Linked DNA regions of Homo sapiens: all the other regions are linked to region 3. The links are contacts of gene promoters, found by promoter capture Hi-C in human tissues and cell types (Jung and others, 2019). All regions are on one chromosome and are shown on one strand. Each heading gives the region's core, a stretch centred on a gene start or on the middle of the fragment in contact. The rest is flanking DNA. Distances are from core to core; before and after follow the strand shown. Region 1 overlaps LINC00839 (long intergenic non-protein coding RNA 839). Region 2 has its middle 100 kb from the start of LINC00839. Region 3 holds the start of BMS1 (BMS1 ribosome biogenesis factor).

Region 1 (2,955 bases), core at 430-2,929, 290 kb before region 3:
TTGTATAATACTGATCATTCTATCTTAGTGGTAAGAGCCCGAGAAGGAGTATGGATACCTGTAAAGCTTTCCCGTCCTTGAGAAGCCTCTCCTTCTGTGCATATTATTACTGAAATTCTTCAAAAGATTTTGAGGCACTCTCAGGGTTTCATTGCTACTTTAATCATTATGGGATTGATTGCTGTCACAGCTACTGCCACGGTAGCTGGAGTTGCTTTACCAACACAGTACAAACAGCAGATTATGTAAATAATTGGCAGAAAAATTCTACTTTGCTGTGGAATTCCCAAACTAATATACACCAGAAATTAACCAATCAGATTAATGATCTCCGACAAACTATCGTATGGTTGGGAGATCATGTAGTTAGTTTAAAATATAGAATGCAGTTAACAATGTGATTGAAATACTTCTGATTTTTGCATTACTCCTCACCTGTATAATGAAACAGAGCATGAGTGGGAAAGAGTTAAGAGACATTTAAAGGATCATACTGGAAATTTATCTTTGGATATTGCAAAACTGAAGGAACACATATTTCAAGCCTCTCAGGCACATCTGACATTAATGACAGGAACTAAAGTGCTTGAAGGAGCTGCAGATGGATTAGCAGCTATTCACCCATACAAGTGGATCAAGACACTTGGAGACTTTGTGATTTCAATGATGATTGTGCCTTTAATCTGTATTGTTTGTCTTTGTGTAGTCTGCAGATGTGGATCCCGAATCCTGCGAGAAGTAGCCCACCATGACGAAGCTGCCTTTGCTTTTATCGCTTTGCAAAAACAGAAAAGGGGACATGCTGGGAACAGGCCCTAAGCCTGTCATAAACAGGCCTTAAACTGACCATGAACAGGATTTCTGCACGAATGTGACGTGCTCCTGATGGCTATGACGCCCACTGCTAGAAGTTGTTAGTTTACTGGAGCAGGGTAGGGAACACCTGGCCCACCCGGAGCGGAAAACTGCTCAAACCACAAACAACAGCATGAGTGGCCTGAGCCTTAACAACATGTTTTTGCTGCAGATAATCGGCCAGAGACTGTTTCTCTACTCCTCTCTAAGTATGCTTTGTTTTTCGTAAGGAATGCTTTTAGCTAATCTGTAACCTATAGAAACAATGCTTATCACTGGCTTGCTGTCAATAAACATGTGGGTCAAACTCTGTTTGTGGCTCTCAGCTCTCAAGGCTGTTTTCCCCCTGATTCCCACTTTGCACTTTATTTCTGTGTGTTTGTCTTCATTCCTCTAGCACCACTGGGTTGGGGTCTCCTTGACCAAGCTGGTCTCGGCACATATGCATGTATGCCCAGGTCCTGAAATCAGCCTTGTGGAGCCTGTGGGTAGGAAAAGTCAACCCTCTGTGCATGTAGGCCTGGAACCTGACCAATACTGTATTTTCCTACCACGTTTGGTTTCAAATGTGGAAACTGCCCATACGGACCTACTGCATTTGTTTTTAAAAATCCTCTGTAAGTGGACCTGCACAGTTCAGGCCCAGATTGTTCCAGGATCAACCCTACAGTAGAAATCAAGTATCTTTTTCATTGTCTCTTGGGATCTGCCTTTTCACCAATAAAATATGAGGGCTGTTGGGAGCAGGCCCCCCCAAATCTGGCCATAAACTGTCCCCAAAACTGGCCATAAACAAAATCTCTGCAGCACTATAACATGTTCATAATGGCCATAACGCCCAAGTTGGAAGGTTGTGGATTTACAGGAATGAGGGCAAGGAACACCTGGCCTGCCCAGGGTGGAAAACCACTTAAAGGCATTCTTAAGCCACAAACAATAGCATGAGTGATCTGTGCCTTAAGAACATGCTCCTGCTGCAGTTAACTAGCCCAACATATTCCTTTAATTCAGTCCATCCCTTCGTTTCCCATAAGGGATACTTTTAGTTAATTTAATATCTATAGAAAGAATGCTAATGACTGGTTTGCTGTTAATAAATACGTGGGTAAATCTCTGTTTGGGGCTCTCAACTCTGAAGGCTGTGAGACCCCTGATTTCCCACTTGACACCTCTATATTTCTGTGTGTGTGTCTTTAATTCCTCTAGCACTGCTGGGTTAGGGTCTCCCTGACCGAGCTGGTCTCAGCAAGTGGAGTCCATTGTGGGGGCTCAAATCCAGGTTGAAGGGTCACCGGAGCAACATTTGGAAAGGAAAACTAGCTGAAGGACATGTGAATACTCTTAAAGCAATCTCCTTGGTGAGTAAGAAGGGGCGCTCGGAAGCGTCAGGGTAACAATGGGACACGTTTGGGGTCTGGTTTGTTTCACCTTGGAACTTTTTCACACGGATGATGAGGAGGAAGGAGAGTTTAATGAAGTAACAGAAGAGAGTACAGAGCACATTTATTTACCAGCTAAAGCTAAAGCAGCAAAGGAGGGAGAGATTCATCCTTACCCTTCTGCACCCCCTCATGATTATTTTGAAGAAAATGACTTTCAAGATCTTTCTTTTCCAGAGGACACTGGGCGAAAAGTAGTTGCCCCAGTGACTGTTTGAGCAGCACCTCAAGCGACTGCTCTTAGTTCTATTCACGCAGGAATTCAGCAAGCTAGATGAGAGGGTGATTTAGAGGCTTGGCAGTTCCCTGTTAGAATACACCACCCCCAGATCAACAGGGAAATATTATAGCTACATTTGAGCCTTTTCCTTTTAAATTACTCAAAGAATTTAAACAAGCTATAAATCAGTATGGACCAGGTTCTCCTTTTGTAATGGGACTGTTAAAGAATGTTGCTGTTTCCAGTTGGATGATTCCTACTGACTGGGATGCTCTTACTCGAGCTTGTCTAACTCCTGCTCAGTTCTTAAAATTTAAAACTTCGTGGGCAGATGAAACTGCCATTCAGGCTGCTTGCAATGCCCAGGCCCAACCTCAAATTAGTATAACTGCAGACCAACTTTTGGGGGTTGGCAACTGGGCTAGTTTAGATGTCCAAGGG
Region 2 (3,094 bases), core at 132-2,631, 410 kb before region 3:
ATTTTTTTATATTTTTAGTAGAGACAGGGTTTTACCGTGGTCTTGATCTCCTGACCTCGTGATCCGCCCGCCACGGCCTCCCAAAGTGCTGGGATTACAGATGTGAGCCACCGCGCCCGGCCAAAACCCACCTTTCTTAAAATCAGGTTCTTACTTCAGTGAGAGTGTGGCCAAAACTCAGGGCCTTAGCGCCACTCTCAGTTACCATGGTTTTGGGTTTCCAGTCTCATCACATCATTCACAGGTTACTGTGTCCTCATGGTTACATATTTCTTTGAATTTGTGATTCCAGTTAAAAAGGAACTATTTGACATTCGAGAGATGGCTGCATGCAAACATTTATAGCTTTTGAGAGAATACAGTGCACCAGGGAGACTACCAAGTGAAAAATACCAAGAGTTTGGAGTATGCATTTTGGCCAGGGATCACATGAAACGAACCAACTAAAATTAAATAGATCAAAGAATGAGCTAAATAAAGGGTTTACTACTGATTTTGATCAAGTAGTTTGTTTATTAATTCCAGACAACTGAATCTCTGTAATATCCAAAGTATTCTTTTATGTGCAACTACAAGTATCAGTAACTGCACAGATACTTCTCTGTTTGTCCAGTAAGCACATAATTCTATACTTAGCACAATGTTCACAACAGAATTTAAAGTCTGTTGTGTAGCCTTTACAGTAGAATCTGCTACAGAGCCTATTATGGGGGTTAAATTACTAATCATTGCGTTATTTACTCTAAACCATGAAAAAAGAAATCTAACAATTGATACCCATCCAGAAGAGTGAAGGCCTTCTGGCAATGCCCTTTATACTGAAAAATTTCTATTTAACCTATGAAGTAAGTAGGTTAAGAGCAGTGGGCCAATGTTCCTTTTCTGATATTATAAGGAAAAAAAGTCCCATTAATATTTCTCACCCACACTGGCCCTTCATCTTTCATCTCTCAAGGCATAAGTTTGTCCATGTATAAAGTTGGCTGCAAAATCCTCTGCATAGATAGTATACTCCATGAGGGGACAAAAGACTGCTTTTTTATTTCTATTGTTTGTAGGGCCATAAGCAGGAAAAAACAGAGCTAAGAGTCTCATGACAGCAGAGAAGTTTTGATTCATAATCTTAGAGAAAATGCTGTGTTAAGAATGTCATCTGCTTCTGAGGACAAATTTATCTGGTTAGCTTTACCTAAAGGTCTCTGATGTATATAAAATTCTGGCAGGGCTTAGTGGCTCATGCCTGTAATCCCAGCACTTTGGGAAGCCAAGGTGGGCGGATCATGAGGTCAGGAGATCAAGACCATCCTGGCCAACATTGTGAAACCCCTCTCTACTAAAAATACAAAAATTAGCTGGGCGTGGTGGTGCGTGCCTGTAATCCCAGCTACTCAGGAGGCTGAGGCAGGAGAATCACTTGAACCAGGGAGATCACGCCATTGCACTCCAGCCTGGCGACAAAGCGAGACTCTGTCTCAAAAATAAATTAATTAATTGATTAAGTTAAATAAAATTCCAAGAATCTGGAGAGGACCTTCTGAAATGTAAGATTATAAACCCAGGGGTTCAAGGTCCCAAAGTTCTGCCACAGTGTGGATAAAAAGGAGATATTCAGTATCTTGGTTATAGATTATAATGGGATTATTGTCCTTCAGTTGGTGGACCATTAAAAGCTTTCTTTACCTGGAAAAAAATATGCCTTGGCATAATGCATTAAAGCCTTGCTGCATTAAACCACATCACAATTTAGTAACAGAAAATACATGCAGTTCTATTATTAAGTGAATGGACCTTCCAATGAGTATTTCTTAAGGGTCAACTGATGTTGTCCACACTAAGTGGATCAGATTGTCATCAATCTGCAATACATTTGACCAAGGTAATCCAGTCAATTCAGTTATCCTTGCTTAATGCTGTAGCATCTGTAATAATTCATTTTACAGTTTTACAACTTTTCCAGTGAAATAAGTACTTCTATCATTGAAGGTTTTATCAGAAATGTCCAATGAAAAAACATATTTTCTAATAACATTTTAGTTACTGTTGTAACATCAGCCTTCTTGCATGGGAAAGTTTTTATACAACCAGAAAACATGCATTGAAAATGACAATTGAATAAAACCTGTGTACAAATGTTTAAATGACCCATCAGGTTTCAAAAATATACATGAAGTTTTAATTGTCTTCCTAGAATTATAGATTTGATAAACCAAACAATGGTTATAAACTATGTTAGCAATTTAAAACAATCACCATACATACATGACACACACACACACATTTAATTTATTTAATTTGGATTATTTTTTCTCTTCCATGAGTCATGAAATGCAGAGCTTTTAATAATAAAAGCCTTGAAGACTCAGGAAAAACCAGGTAGCTGTCTAGCTTCTCCACAAGTTCATGTTTAACAGTGGATTCATGTCCTTTTAAATACCAGGTTTGTTTCTCCAATTTAGATGCATAGCACTAATAACTGATGGCTTATCATAGGGAATTTGACTTGAACCACAGAGTTCATTCAAATTGCATATCTAAACAATCTCAGCACTGGCTAGTTTAGTATGAAAATCTGGCAAAACATTTTCTTGGTATTCAATTAATTTTTGTCTCGCTTTGATTAGGAGTTTTATAAGTCATTCCCTTCATTAGAGTTCTGAGGGTTGTTACCCAGTCCAAATGATACAATCCTAAAGTTATCTAAAACCTGTATGCAACATGTCTGGGTTCTTACCACTCTTTTCATGACCTCCTTAAAGACATAACACTCTAATATTTTGTGTGCTTGTGAAGTTTTTAGAAACTGCATCAGAATTAAGTCAGTAACTATAGATATGACTTAAAATGGTCATACTTAAATACACAGTTGGTGGCTGGGCGCAGTGGCTTATGCCTGTAATCCCAGCACTTTGGGAGGCTGAGGTGGGTGGATCATTTGAGGTCAGGAGTTCAAAACCAGCCTGGCCAACATGGTGAAACCACGTCTCTACTAAAAGTACAAAAATTAGCTGGGCATGGTGATAGGCGCCTGTGGTCCCAGCTACTTGGGAGGGTGAGGCAGGAGAATCACTTGAGCTCGGGAGGCAGAAGCTGCAGT
Region 3 (3,183 bases), core at 414-2,913:
ATGAGAATGGTTGGCCATTGAGTTTAAGCTGGCTCACTAGAGAGGGTCATAAAGGAAGAAACAGTGAACAAGTAGTAAGATCTTGATTGGAGGTGCTGGTAAGGTTGCAGGAGTTTTGTTTCAGGGCAGTATAGGGAGTGACCTGGACAGATAGGAGGATAGATAGACCTGGTCAGAGTGGGATACTGTGGGGGTTGCAGTCCTTGGACCTGACAAGGTCTAAGGTCTGATCATGGAGGGAGGGGGAAGCTGAGGTAGGGCAGAGGACAGGAGTGGGCTTCATGAGACCAAAAGGATGTTGGAAGGATTATCTACCTGGATACTGAAATCTTCAAGAAGTAAGAGGTGTAGTGTGAAGAAGTTACAACACTCTAAGCTCTTCAGGGATAAGGGAAGCATGTGCCACGTGGGTAGCCTCCCAAGTCCAGCACCCAGTATCTAGAATATGCAGAGTGAATACCTGGGGGCTGCTGAGGGCAAGAACAAGGTGCCTGTGAGAAGACCTGACGCCTGGGGTTCTCGTGACAGGAGTGGGCCTAGTTTTTGGTGTAGAATTGAGCCTTGAATGCACCAGCGGGATCATATTGAAAAGAAACCCTCCAAGACTAAAGGAAGATGCATCCTCTGACAATGTACGCTCTGTAGGCTCCCAAGTAGCTGGGCTGGGGATTAGATGGACTCCAAGGCATTTCCTCAGGTGGCAATGGGCGGATCCCTGGGAAGGTAAAGCTGTGCAGTAAGAAAACGGCAAGATGCTACGTTCACTCAGGTAAAGCCCCTTTCCCGGGTTTAGGGAGGGCGAGGCAGTTTAGGCTGGGTCAGTTTGTCCCTGCCCTCACGGTTTGTTGGTCCTGGCAAAAGAGGGCCTTATGTTATTTATTTTTCTTAGAGACAGTGTCTTGCTCTGTTGCCCAGGCTGAAGTCCAGTGGCTCATCTCAGTTCACTGCAGACTCCGCCTCCTGGGATCAAGCGATCCTCCCACCTCAGCCTCCAGAGTAGCTGGGACCACAAGCACCACAGGCGCCCGGCACGATGCCGGCTAATTTTTTTTTTTTTTTTTTTTAAGAGAGAGAGGTAGGCTCCCTATGTTGCCCAGGCTTGTCTTGAATTCCTGGGCTCAAGCAATCCTCCCTCCTCGGCTTCCCAAAGTGTAGGGATTACAGGCGTGAGCCACTGCGCCCTGCCAAAAGAGGGCTTTAGGGCACCCCAGAACGCGAGATCCCCCTCATCTGTAATCTTTAAAGAGGAGGAAGTGTACTCCAAATCAAGCGATAGTCCATTCGTCCTTGGCACGGTGACTGCCGGGAGGCCAGGACCAAATGTGTCTCCTTCCGGCTTTTGCACCACACTAACTAACCGGCGCCAGGCCGCAGAGCCGCCCTGGCCTTCGGCGAGAACTCAGGCGAGCGCGGCGCACGCTGCTCCGGAGTCCCACCGCGGAAGTTGAGGCCGCGGATTCCGAGGGCGGGGTGGAGAGGAATCTGGAAGGACCTGGACCCGGTGGAACGCACTGCGCGGACGGCGCCTGCGTCCGCACTCAGCTGTTCAGCCCTCTTTCTTCAGGCTCTCCCCTGAAAGCCGTCCCCATGCCGGTCTCTTTTTTCTGCCTTCTTGTTTCCCTCCGGCGAGTCAGCGCGACTGTGAATTTCCGTTTCCGGCGGTGTCCATGCTGACCTGAGGAGTCGCGGCTGCGAGCAGGTTCGGTGCTGCGGGTTGGGGTAGGCGGCGGTGGGGTCCCTGGTTCTGGGGCACTGGGAAGATCGCGAGTCGTGCGTGTGGGAAGGTCCTCCCCCGGTCCTCCGGGTCATCTTTGCTCCCGAGGAGCGGCATATTTCTCATCTGGCGGAGGTGTCCTGGGGTAGTTGGGTGAGTGACGTGATGAATCCCTGCAGAGAGCCCAGACGGGGAGGGAAGGTGGCTGGGCGACGTCGTTTCCTGGCGACGTGGTCCCGGTAGGAGACTTAGACCTGAGCTGGATCTGTTGACCCCAAATTGTGCTTTTCCCACCAAGAAGAAAGACAGGGAGAGAAACATTAGTACAAGTGCTGAACTAAAATATAGCAGAGAAGAAACATAATCTCTGAAATCACACAGCTATTCGGTTTCAAAGCGTTCCTAGCGCCCAGCTCTCCTAACTCCTGGCCAGTGTTCTTGACATTATGGTAATACATAAAGACTTTGTTTCCGCTGGTGTGTGTCTGTGGGAAGCCTCTGACTCACCTCCGTGCTCCAGTAGCACCCTGTGCAGCCTTCCAATGTCGCCCTTATTGCGTGGCGCGGAAGATAATAGTTTGGATTTCCTCTGCAAGTCAGATAATAGCTGTATCCACTTACTGGCACAGTGCCTAGCACATCGTAGACAGACACAAATATTTATTCAACGGAATGAATACAGTACCTTAATTGAATGAAATGGCATCCTGCTCCGCTTTTTTTTTTTAATCAAGCTGTCAGATTTTATGCAGCCCGATTTCCTAAAATAACTCACTAATTCAGTGATTGCCAATTTATTAGCCACAGATTCCCAGGTAACTCAGAAATCACTGGAAGGGTCTCTGTAAGTTCATGGGGTCTCCAGGTGTCATCTAGAACCAGTCCTATCTCACACGTACAGCTATTTCTATTTTTCAAATGTATGTAGATAAGTTGTAATTTAGGAGTTTTACAGAGTCAACAGGTACTAAAAGTAATACTGCGATCATATTGGAGGTTCATAAAAACGTTTCACATTTTTTTATTAAAATTTAAGTTTTAGTTTAAGTTAGGAAACCACTTCATCAGTCCAGTTGATACCTGGGTCTGAGCTGTCCAGTATGGTAGCCACATGTGACTATTTGGAGTTAGAATGAAATTAATTAAAAACTCATTTTTTCAGTTTCCCTAAGTATATTGTAAGTAACCACATGTGGCTAATGGCTAAATGGCTGAAAAGTACAGATATAGTATATTTCTATCCTTGCAGAAATAGATACTGCTGATGTTGACACTTAAGATGAATAAAAAGTAACTTAACCATAAAATGTAATCTTAAGAGAGGTAACTCATCTAATTTATAGCATAACAGAGAGAAATGAAATTGGGGATGGTTAAGCAGTTTCTACCCTTGTTCAGTGAACAAATACATCATCTCTTCATAAAGAAATAAATGAAATTTACTGTTTTTCCCTGGGTATTGCCTGGAT

Evidence for each region. The method cuts DNA at HindIII sites, captures the fragments that hold promoters and counts their contacts. A contact is called where the count stands out against the background at its distance.
Region 1: a fragment that was not itself captured here is called in contact with the fragment with the promoter of BMS1 in region 3 in 1 of the 25 tissues and cell types used here (thymus).
Region 2: a fragment that was not itself captured here is called in contact with the fragment with the promoter of BMS1 in region 3 in 1 of the 25 tissues and cell types used here (spleen).

The regions. Positions count from the first base shown.
Region 1 is chr10:42,493,309-42,496,263 of GRCh38, forward strand. LINC00839 (long intergenic non-protein coding RNA 839) reads left to right here. Exons shown (of 5, transcript NR_026827.1): 5 at 707-2,029. Among named protein-coding and RNA genes, the nearest start is that of LINC00839, 19 kb to the left of the region's middle. The HindIII fragment of the contact is 5,604 bases long and covers 1-2,955 here.
Region 2 is chr10:42,371,463-42,374,556 of GRCh38, forward strand. No RefSeq gene overlaps it. Among named protein-coding and RNA genes, the nearest start is that of LINC00839, 100 kb to the right of the region's middle. The HindIII fragment of the contact is 4,474 bases long and covers 1-3,094 here.
Region 3 is chr10:42,781,132-42,784,314 of GRCh38, forward strand. It overlaps BMS1 (BMS1 ribosome biogenesis factor), which reads left to right and starts at 1,664. Exons shown (of 23, transcript NM_014753.4): 1 at 1,664-1,699. RefSeq lists an enhancer at 1,495-1,844. The HindIII fragment of the contact is 8,695 bases long and covers 1-3,183 here.